4 separate regions of the Homo sapiens genome follow, and regions 1, 3 and 4 are each linked to region 2. The links are contacts of gene promoters, found by promoter capture Hi-C in human tissues and cell types (Jung and others, 2019). All regions are on one chromosome and are shown on one strand. Each heading gives the region's core, a stretch centred on a gene start or on the middle of the fragment in contact. The rest is flanking DNA. Distances are from core to core; before and after follow the strand shown. Region 1 has its middle 6.0 kb from the start of SCP2D1-AS1. Region 2 holds the start of DZANK1 (double zinc ribbon and ankyrin repeat domains 1). Region 3 overlaps SNX5 (sorting nexin 5). Region 4 has its middle 5.6 kb from the start of OVOL2.

The links. The method cuts DNA at HindIII sites, captures the fragments that hold promoters and counts their contacts. A contact is called where the count stands out against the background at its distance.
Region 1: a fragment that was not itself captured here is called in contact with the fragment with the promoter of DZANK1 in region 2 in 2 of the 25 tissues and cell types used here (ovary and spleen).
Region 3: a contact is called between a fragment that was not itself captured here and the fragment with the promoter of DZANK1 in region 2, in 1 of the 25 tissues and cell types used here (dorsolateral prefrontal cortex).
Region 4: a contact is called between a fragment that was not itself captured here and the fragment with the promoter of DZANK1 in region 2, in 1 of the 25 tissues and cell types used here (mesenchymal stem cells).

The regions. Positions count from the first base shown.
Region 1 is chr20:18,834,722-18,837,607 of GRCh38, forward strand. No RefSeq gene overlaps it. Among named protein-coding and RNA genes, the nearest start is that of SCP2D1-AS1, 6.0 kb to the left of the region's middle. The HindIII fragment of the contact is 6,459 bases long and covers 1-2,886 here.
Region 2 is chr20:18,465,580-18,468,279 of GRCh38, forward strand. It overlaps DZANK1 (double zinc ribbon and ankyrin repeat domains 1), which reads right to left and starts at 1,451. Exons shown (of 21, transcript NM_001367614.1): 1 at 1,417-1,451. It overlaps POLR3F (RNA polymerase III subunit F), which reads left to right and starts at 1,811. Exons shown (of 9, transcript NM_006466.4): 1 at 1,811-1,989. The coding sequence starts at 1,928. RefSeq lists enhancers at 1,331-1,949, 1,572-1,891. The HindIII fragment of the contact is 23,548 bases long and covers 1-2,700 here.
Region 3 is chr20:17,960,035-17,962,734 of GRCh38, forward strand. The region is part of intron 1 of SNX5 (sorting nexin 5); the gene reads right to left. SNORD17 (small nucleolar RNA, C/D box 17) reads right to left here; the gene lies at 2,676-2,700. Among named protein-coding and RNA genes, the nearest start is that of SNORD17, 1.6 kb to the right of the region's middle. RefSeq lists an enhancer at 1,228-1,397. The HindIII fragment of the contact is 8,206 bases long and covers 1-2,700 here.
Region 4 is chr20:18,062,034-18,064,923 of GRCh38, forward strand. No RefSeq gene overlaps it. Among named protein-coding and RNA genes, the nearest start is that of OVOL2, 5.6 kb to the left of the region's middle. The HindIII fragment of the contact is 6,139 bases long and covers 1-2,890 here.

The DNA of each region.
Region 1 (2,886 bases), core at 383-2,882, 370 kb after region 2:
TCCTCCCTTTGAGTATGTGTGGTCCTGGGACTATAGCAGCAGTAATAGCATGTGACTTCTGGGGCTTAGTTATAAAAGACAACGACTTCCTGATCCTTTTGGGGTGATCCCCCTTGGAATCCAGCCACATGCAAGGCCAAGTCAATGTATTCCAACCACAGCTCCAGTTGAGGTCTCAGCTGACAGCCAGCATTGGCTACCACCTATAGGAGGAGAAGCTTTCAGATGATTCCACCCCCCTGCATTCCCATCTTCCCACGTACCTCAGAGTGGAGTAGAGATGAGTTGTCATCTACCAAGCCTTGCCCAAATGCAGACTTATAAAAAAATGTTGCTGCTGTTTAAAGCCACTAACTTTTCAGGTCATTTGTTGCACAGCAAGAGATAGTTAGAGTATACTTTATACAAATAGTGTCATCCAGTAGGTATACTTTCCTGACATTCCACATTATGTCTGTGAGAGTCTCCATGTTGTTGCATGTAGTCATAGACTGTTTATTCTTTTTGCTTTATAGTATGTGGTTATATGAATAAAATACAATTTATGTATTCATTGTGCTACTGACAGACATCATTTATTTCTAGTTGGGGCTATTAATAAAAGTCAAAGATTCTAGTACATGTCTTCTGGTAAATGTAAGTACATGTTTCTATTGGGCATGTACCTAGAATTGGAACTGCTGTGCCTTAGAGTCCATCTGTGGTCCACTTCAGTAGTTACTGTCAAAAAGTTTGCTAGTATTCTTTTTTGAACAAAATGTTAAAAGCCATGTCATAGGCTTGTTTATGGAGTGATGCTCTGAGGTTTGATCCTGTGAGGGAGGGAGGTCAGATCAGAGGTGCCCTAGTCATCTCTAGAAAAGACACTAGGTCAGCATTGGATTTATTCACTCTGTAACCCCATGGCCAAGTAGGCTTGCAAAGAATGTGATCTTTAACAGCAACAATTTGTAGACTGGGAGCCTCCTGGTGTTACACAACTGTGGAGTAGCCCTTTCTTATATTCCTGTTTCTGACTTCCCTTTAACAAATTTGTGAAAACACACACAAAGTCAAATTTTGGCCTTGTCTTTGGAAACAATCATTGCCACAGTCCAAGGAAGTTTCCAGTAGGTGTTCCATGATTAAGAACATTCGTGAGCCACACACCACAGGCTTTACCCTCTAAATCAGATTAGTCTGGAAAGACCCTGATGGAGTAAAGGGACAAGGCTAAATTGCCCTTTTATATGCCTTGGTTTGTATTTTCAATGGAAATTAAACCCAACAGCCACAGAACCTGCAACCCACAACTGAAGCGATGACGTAATGCACCATGACTGAGATGATGGCAAAGATAACTGTAGTGCTGTTGCTGCCCATCCAACAGCAATTATGAAGACACCATTAATAATAGCCTTGATTTCAGGATGATGACATATGAACAAAATGTGCTTGTAAGAATGGCCACAACACAGCATTTGAATATCATGCCCAGCCACAATCTCTCTCCTTTTGCCTGTGTATTTGGATTGTACATGCTGATTTTTGCCTCTGTCAGCTTAGATAAGTAAAGATAACTTAAATGTGATTCCTGATTCTGTTAATGGTTTGAAATAAGTATTATAGCTTCTCCATGTCCCTATGTCTGAATTTATCAGATGTTCAGGATGGATATTTCCCAAAAGGAAACATTTCTTGTACCTGTCGCTGGTGTTGAGGAACGTTTGGGGTGCTCCTGGTAGGAACTGTTCCTTTGGAAATGAGATCTTAGATATCACCCTTAGGGCTAACAATGTCTGGGAAGCAGCTGAGTGGTCCGTGATGTGGACAAGGGAGAGAGCAGGACAGGGAAGTGAGAGAGAGAGAAAGATTGAGAAGAGAGAAGCAATGAGACAGCAGCCGCCAGGATGGCAGGAAGATGTGGAAGAGGGGAGAAAGCTACAGCTGATAGAGATTGGTTAAGGCCTCAGAGGGCCTCCGTGGGCTGCTCCCATGTACTTTGGCTACAGAGCACAAAATAATGCACTTGAAGGGTTCTTGTGAGCTTCTTCTATAAAATGGGATGATGTTAATGATGGCGATGGTGATGATCTATATGTACCTCCTTATGTTATTATGAAGATTTGTAGAGATGATACTTACACAGTCTTTATCTCAGCACCCAGAGGGTAAGTGCTTAAGAAATGTAGTGAATGTTAAAATTCTACACAGGTAGTAATCTAGATTGTAAATAACAAACCTTGTCTGATAAAAATCTGGACAATAATCTGGCTATTTTTTTTTGTTTTTAGCACACATCAATGACCAGTTTTCAAAACAGATTATCATCAGGTAAATGTAATTGAAGCAAACAGAGTGACATGTGAGACACTTTAGAATCCTGCAGTGTCCCAGGAAATCTGCTGGGACCACGCTTTGCCATAGGCAGTAAAGCCTTTTGGGCAGGAGTTTATGTACTGCATGGGTTCAAATCCTGGCTCTGCCATTCACCAGCTTTATGACCATGGGTGAGTTGCCTAACCTCTCTGAGCCTCAGTTTCTCATCTGTGAAAGGGAAATAGTGATAGCATCCATTACATAGAGTTGTTGTGAAAGCTTAATATGGTTAGGTAGGCAAAAACTTAAATAGGTCTGGGCACACAACACTCAATATGGTAGTTCTCCTTATCCATGGTTTCAGTTTCCAACTGTGAAAATAGTTGGAAGTGGCTGTGTCTTTCCACGACTATAGCTCTGTCTGGTCCCTGCCCTCCACCCACCACTTGACCCCTCAATGCTCTAGCACTCACTGGATTCCAGCTCAGACCTAGGTATGTTAATGAATTCTGACGACTAAAAATAAAATCCTAAGCCCTGCAGCTGACTGAATGGACTCCCTCTTGGCTAAGGGGACCCCAGAGAAAC
Region 2 (2,700 bases), core at 201-2,700:
ACCTCACTTCTGCGAAAGGAGCATGAATGAATGAGATGGGGAAAAGAAAGAAGTTACTTTAAAAGGACAAATTAAATGAGTAAGGCAAAACAGAGACTATCACTAACGCTCTGACTTGAGTTCCCTGTAAATCATTATCGCCTTTTCCTGCCTCTGGTGTGTGTCAGCTCTCTTGGCTTCAGGGCAAGTCATCATACAAGGGGAACAGAAGTAATTCTGTGTGTACCACAAAATGTTAGTTAGAGCTAACTTTTTTGGGAAAGCTCCGGGTTCACAGCCTTGCCATTATCACCAGAGCAGTTCTAGTATTTGAAAGCTGCAAAGACACTTTAGAAGGACTGCAGAGTACTACTTCTCAGTGGAAAGGAAGTTTGCAAGAATATAAACAGTGACCAATAAACACAAGCCTCCCGTTTCATCTACTGTATTTATAAATCCTGGTATTAATAATTAACTACCAGTATGAAAGCCTTACTGGTCTTTTTGGAGGTGAGGGTGGGGAGGAAGGTTGTCATAATTAATGCACAGAAGGTTTCAGGGGGAAAAAACGCTCACCTTAACACAACAACCATTTACATCTCTGTATTGCCTTTTCAAATTTCATTAATAATCCATAGATTTTGCCCAATTATAATCTACATATTCATTCCATTTTTATAGTCTACTTCTTGCATTCTCACTGTATTATTTAGTTTTCCCTGTACTTATTTATCCATTTGTGGCTGGGCATTTAGGCTATTTCTAGTTTCTTTTTAGTTTTGCCTGTTGCAGTTCTAATAATGCTGATCTGAACATGTCTGCAGTTTGAGCTTTGTCACAGACTGTATTCTCAAAAATGGGGTACCTAAATTTAAGGGGTGAACTTAATGCCTTGTTGGATAGTTCCGGATCTAGGGCCAAGAATATAAACTACAGATACTGACAGCACAACAATAGCTCCTACGGGAGTGTGGCTGGACTTGAGACTTGCCCATAGTCGCATTTCCATTTAAGTGAAAGGCAGATAAAATAAAAGTAGTTGAAAAATTCTAAATAAAAAATATGTAGGAGAGGAAGTAATTCGCGAGCGTCAACTAGCAGCTGCCCTTAGGAAGCTGGGGTGGCCAGTGGGCCCCACGCAAAGGGAATCAAGAAAAAAGGCGGATCCGCCAGGCCCAAATGGCAACGTGCAGTCAACAGGATCCCCAGACCCCTCAACTCTCCCAACGTGGACCGCCCCCTCGCAGCCCGGATCCGGAATCCCGTTTGGTTGTTCCCGCCCATCAGGGGCTGCCAAGGACACCTGCATCCTTTCGGCTGGAGTAAGGGAAGCTCTTCCCCTCCTCTAGCCGCCCTCCTCTTCCTCTAACCGCGGGGCCCGGGATCGGGACCCCTAATGCATCTCTGCCGCGCCCAACCCAGTCGCCAGCCTCTCACCGCCTCTTGCCTCCTCCTTCGCCGCCGCCCGGGTTACCACAGACGCGGCGAGCCGCGCCCCGCCCACTGGGTGCTGGGCAGATGATTGGTGGAGACTCAGCTTCTTAGCAACTAGACCGGCCCCTGCCGCTCCGCAGGGAGCCTGGTACCCGCCTGGAGTTCCTTTCCCAGTGCTTTCCCATAGGCATCTAAGAATATTCCTTCACAGAGTTGCCAAGTGCTAAAAGTTGGTTTCCCAACTCAGAATGAAGGAACCAGGCTTGTGCGTCCGATGGGCATTGACATTCTGGAAAACAAGAATAAGAAGCTGTAGCGGCGCCTGTAAGTGGGCCGGAGCAGGCGCAGCTTGGCCACCTCCCGCCGAAAGGCAAGGAAGGACCGGCTGCGACACGAGGAAGAAGGCCCCTCGGCCTCAGCAGAGCGCTATCCTCCACTGGTTCCCCGGGTTCCCCGGCTTGCTACCGGGCTGCTCCGTGCATCTTTCCCCCCAGGCGTCAGGAACTGCGCCCTCATGGCGGAGGTGAAGGTGAAGGTGCAGCCGCCTGACGCGGATCCGGTCGAAATAGAAAACAGGTAAACCAGTGAGGCTCCGGCTTGGCACTCCATCAGGCGCCCAGTCATTTGGGCAGCTGGACCCCTTCTCCGGGATCCCTTGGGAGTGGCCGGAGCGGGTTAGGTGAGCACGCGGGAAAAACGATTGCGGGGTTCTGGACCCACTTGTTCCTTCCCATCCTGGGAGAGCAGAACTCAAGAAGTTCAAAATGGGTTTGACAGCTTGCAACTTTGTGTAGCTGGCTGGCTTTGCCCTGATACTTTTGGGGAAGTTGTGATGACGTGCTGCCTTCCTACTTTGACGCGATCAGTGCTTTGAGAGGAGCCCTCGGCTTTCTTTCCCTGTAGAACACTTGTGAATACATGTTCTGATCCAGGATCGCTCTTGTCACTAAGGGAACGTCTATGACAAAACGTTTAGGCGGAGTTAGGGCGCAGTTGGTGATTACGAAGTAACATTAAGCCAGGTGGTTTCAGTGCAGTATTGAACTCAAGACTTTTAGGACACCCAAAGCCTCTGCCACTTTTATTTTTATTTGTTTGTTTGTGAGACAGAGTCTCGCTCTGTCGCCAGGCTGGAGTGCAGTGGCGCGATCTCGGTTCACTGCAATCTCCGCCTCCCGGGTTCAAGCGATTCCCCTGCCTTAGCCTCCCGAGTAGCTGGGACTACAGGCTCGCGCCACCACGCCCAGCTAATTTTTTATGTTTTAGTAGAGACGGGGTTTCACCATG
Region 3 (2,700 bases), core at 20-2,519, 510 kb before region 2:
CTTTAGAACCAAGTCCAGCCTTGGGCATGCCGGACCTTTACCATGCAAAGTTTTACCTCTTTTCCAGATCCCTTAGGTCACTTGTAAGAATCAAATTGAAAATATACCTACTCTCAAATAATTTAAGTTTTAAAACTGACTTCTGGCTGGGTGTGGTGGCTCACGCCTGCAATCCCAGCAATTTGGGATGCCAAGGTAGGCAGATCACTTGAGGTCAGGAGATCGAGACCAGCCTGACCAACATGGTGAAACCCCGTCTCTACTAAAAATACAAAAAGTGGCCAGGCACGGTGGCTCACGCCTGTAATCCCAGCACTTTGGGAGGTGGAGGCAGCTAGATCACAAGGTCAGGAGATCGAGAACATCTTGGCCAACACGGTGAAACCCCGTCTCTACCAAAAATACAAAAATTAGCTGGGCATGGTGGCGCACATCTGTAATCCCAGCTACTCAGGAGGCTGAGGTAGGAGAATCGCTTGAACCCAGGAGGCAGAGGTTGCAGTGAGCCGACATCACGCGACTGCACTCCAGCCTGGGCGATGAGAGCGAAACTCCGTCTTAAAAAAACAAACAAACAAAAAAACACACACAAATTAGCCTGGCATGGTGGCGTGCGCCTGTAATCCCAGCTACTCAGGAGGCTGAGGCAGAAGAACTGCTTGAACTCGGGAGGAGGAGGTTGCAGTGAGCCAAGATCGCACCACTGCACTTCAGCCTGGGCAACAGAGCGAGTCTCCAAAAAAAAAAAAAAAAACTACACATAAAAAACAAACCCAACAACCCAGCCTGAGCAAAACGGTGAGACCTCATCTCTATTTCAGAATTTTTAAAAAATTTTTAAAAACCTGACTTTTGTAGATTTCCCTTGAAACTACTGGATCACGTATCCAAAGTTTTAGGTAAAGTTTCAGTTCATGATGTACTTCCCTACCAGGTCAATCCTTACAATACGGATTATAATCAGCCTTCACGGTAAACAAGCACGGCTTCATTTGGAAAGCACATTTTCAACTGTTTTAAAAAATCGCAGTGCTTTTGGTAAGAGAGCCAAGGCACTTCCCTAAAAGGAGAAAAGTAGTTACGGAATCCCTGTGCATTTCCTCACCTATTCATCAGCTTCCCAGCTGGGGCACATCAGACACTGGCTGCAGGACAACCCTGCAGCTGTTGAGCTCCTGCCCACCAGTCTTCATAAACTCACTTTTGGTCCAAATTTCACTTACGACTCTACCAGCAAAGCTGCCTCTTCAAAAGGTTTAATGGCTTACAGAGGGCAAAGGGCACCTGGATGACTGAACAACACAAAAGGCAAGATTCTAAAACTCAGAACCCACCAGGAGAACAGAAAAAATACAGTTTTTTCTAAGTGGTTATGGTGACTGCAGACTCAGTGCCAAAATGAAAAAGACACAGTCCAAAGAAGTGAAACTCCACAATCTCTGATCTGTTAGATTGGGGCTAGTTGAACAGTCATTTAAATCTAATAGTCATTTGTATACAATGTAAGACATGGATACAATATGCAGTGCTAGCCTGTATTTTCCTATTTGAATATCCCACATAAATTACTACAGATAGGATAAAAAAGACACATATCTATTTAAATGACTTCCTAGTTTCCATTCCAAAAGCAGAAGATATGTACTTAAGCAGCACATGCTACAGTGTCTTCTCTTTCAAACTATCTGTTCCTAGCCTCTAGGGATTTTGTTTTGTTATGTTTCATTCCACTGCCTAAGAAACTAAGATTTTGCCAGCAAGAGGGCCAATATGACAAATCATCGATGATTCTTAGCATGGAGCCAAGAAGCCTGCCTCCTTGATCAGATTTTCAGCTGGAAAGATATCCACACCTTGCCTAGTCCAATATTTGTTAAGTGAGAATATAAAATTCAAAGATGTTCTGTCACACTCTAGATTTGTATTAATGTCCACAAATATTAAAGATTCACATGATACATATTTAGGAAACACATGCTACTTTGTTACTGTTTGAACTCTCAGGAAACAATGTTCCCATTGGTGCTCCGAATTGTTACTATTCTCTGCCATCCTGAAGATAACTAATACGTACCTATCTGTGTTCAATCTCAGCTTTAGATTATGGCACTGGTGTGTGAGAAACAACTGGTTCAACTAACTATAAGCAATATATTAACTCTGCTTTTTTTTTTTTTTTTTTGAGACGGAGTCTCACTCTGTTGCCCAGGCTGGAGTGCAGTGGCACAGTCTCAGCTCACCGCGACCTCCACCCCCGGGGTTCAATTCTCCCAGATACTCCTGCCTCAGCCTCCTGAGTAGCTGGGATTACAGGCGCCCACCACCCCACCCAGCTAATTTTTGTATTTTTAGTAGAGACAGGGTTTCACCATGTTGGTCAGGCTGGTCTCTAACTCCTGACCTCGTGATCTGCCCGCCTCAGCCTCCCAAAGTCCTGGGATTATAGGCGTGAGCCACCGCGCCCAGCCCAACTCTGCTTTTACAGGTATTGGCTCTCATTCCCTAGCCATTGGTTCTCCCCTTCCTGTAATTCAGGCCTGCAATATAATTTCTTAGTCCCCCAAGGAAAACAGAACTAAAGACTTCTAACAGAAGATCTCAGTCTACTAACATAGCTAATAGCTATTAAAGCTACTCAGGCATCGGCTTAATAAAAAACTAAAGGGCTGCAGCAAGTGATCAGATTTTCACCACTCATCT
Region 4 (2,890 bases), core at 184-2,683, 400 kb before region 2:
TTCATTTCCATTCCTTCCACCTGGGATCGTGGCCTCTGCCTTATTTGGACGGAGCCCTCAGTATGAAAGCAATTTATCTGGCTCATATTACACAATGTGTTAAATACCTTGTTACCTCTTTAAATATAGACATTTTGGTCATAGTCAAAGTTGAATACTCAGAACTTAAAAACACACACAAGATGTTAATAAAAACAATTTCAATTTTAAAAAAAGAAGAAATGAATCCAATTCTTTACAAATCTCAAGACTGAAGTTGGAAGAGACAGGAGACATAATGTGGTCCATACCCCGCCCAATATTGGGGGTGAGGGGTCTGTACAGCATCCTTGGTAGGTATGTATCTAGCCCTGCTTGAATACTTCTAGTGTTGGGAAGCTCACTGTCTCAAAAAGCAACCTATTCTCTGGTTAGACAACAATGATGCTAGAAAGCTTTTCTTTCTGCTTGTGGAAATCTGCTTTCCTGCCCTTCCATCTCCCCTTTTATTCTGTCATCCAGGGCTGCTGAGACTCCCCCTGTACTCCCTCCCCCTGGTAGCTCTTCAAATTCTTGAAAGCAGCCATCTGCACCCTCACTTAAGACTTCTTTTCTCCAGTAATATATATTCAGGTTGAAAGGAGGCAGGTACAAACCTGCTCAGTGGCATCCCTGGAGCACACAGCAATAAGGAGAGGGTAAGATGTTGTTGAGAAAATATTCCTAAGGAAACTTTATTTAAACTTTTTTTTTTTTTAGACAGAGTTTCGCTCTTGTTCCCCAGGCTGGAGTACAATGGCACGATCTCGGCTCACTGCAACCTCCGCCACCCAATTTCAAGCGATTCTCCTGCCTCAGCCTCCCGAGTAGCTGGAATTACAGGCATGCACCACCATGCCCGGCTAATTTTTTGTATTTTTAGTAAAGACGGGGTTTCTCCATGTTGGTCAGGCTGATCTTGAACTCCCTACCTTAGATGATCCGCCCACCTCGGCCTCCCAAAGTGCTGGGATTACAAGCGTGAGCCACCGCGCCTCCCACCTAAACTTTTAATTGAAGTATAGTACAGTATTAGGAAAATGATATATTTTTACCCACTGAACTCACTAGTGGAAAAAGCACCCAAGTACAAGCCAAGGGTGCCTGCTCTCACCACCCCACTCACATTAGATTGCTTCCTTGCAGGTACAGCAAGGCAAAAAAGAAGAAATAAGAGTATAAGGATTATAAGGGAAAACAACAAAACTACTATTGTTTGTAGTCAGCATCACTGTCTACGGAAAACCCAAAAGAATCTATAGATAAATTATTAGAATTAATAAGAGACTTTAGCAAGATTGCAGTGTAGAAAATCTGAGTGTGGGCTGGGCACAGTGGCTCATGCCTGTAATTCCAGCACTTTGGGAGGCCAAGGTGGGCAATCACAAGGTCAAGAGATTGAGACCATCCAGGCCAACACGGTGAAACCCCGTCTCTACTAAAAAATACAAAAATTAGCTGGGCATGGTGGCGCATGCCTGTAGTCCCAGCTACTCGGGAGGCTGAGGCAGGAGAATCACTCGAACCCAGGAGGTGGAGGTTGCAGTGAGCCGAGATCGCACCACTGCACTCCAGTCTGGCGATAGAGCGAGACTCGGTCTCAGAAAAAAAAAAAGAATCTGAGTGTGTAAGGTTTCAGTGTCAATTAAATTTCTACATGCCAGCAACTGTCAGAAAAATAAAAAGTCTAATGAAAAATGATTTAAAACACAACAAAAATACAAAGTCCCTTGCAATTGATTTTTTGAAAATATTGTGCAAGCTCTTTGTATATAAAATTAGAAAACTTTATTGGTAGCCGGGCATGGCGGTGTGCACCTGTAGTCCCAGAGACTCGGGAGGCTGAGGTGGGAGGATCACCTGAGCCCGGGACGTGGCGGTTGCAGTGATCCTATATGGCACCACTGCACTCCAGCCTGGGCCACAAAAAAGAAGACCCTGTCTAAAAAACAAACAAACAACAACAACAAAAAACTTTATTGGAAGACATTAAAGAAGACACTAATCAATGGAAAGTTTTACTATATTAATGGATTGGAAGATTCAGAATCAAAGAGGCCAAAAATCTCCAAATTCATCTATAGATATAATACAATTTTTAAAAATACTTGACAGTCTTTTTGTGGGACATGATAAATTTCTTTCAAAATTTATGTGAAAGAAGAGTCGAAACACTCCTGAAGGACAAGGTGTGTAGGCTTGATCAATCAGATATCAATAGTAATTAAAATGATGTGGCTTTCATTCACAGAGGGACCACTGGTACCTGAGAGAGAGCCTGGAAACAGCCCCACACATATGTGTGCATTGATTTATGAGAGAGGGTATGCAGTGCAGCAGGGAAAGATGTCATATTCAATACATGGAATTGGAACAAGTGCTTATCCGTTTGGGAAAAATAAAGGAAACTGAATAACACACATATCAGTTTCTGGTGGATTAAACATTTAGATGTGTGTGAATACATATACATGTATATGTATATAGACAATGTAGAGGAATATGTTTATGACCACAGGATAAGAAAGAATTTCTTAAATAAGACCCAAAAAATAAACCACAAAAGAAAAAGGGTTTCCACCTTGAAGAACTGTGAACTTAAAAAAGAAAAGAAAAAGGTTGAGGCTGGGCACGGTGGCTCATGCCTGTAATCCCAGCACTTTGGGAGGCCAAGGCGGGCAGATCATGAGGTCAGGAGATCGAGACCATCCTGGCCAACATGGTGAAACCCCCGTCTCTACTAAAAATACAAAAAGTTAGCTGGGTGTGGTGGCACGCGCCAGTAGTCCCAGCTACTCAGAAGGCTGAGGCAAGAGAATTGCTTGAACCCAGGAGGCGGAGGCTGCAGTGAGCCGAGATAATGTCACTGCAC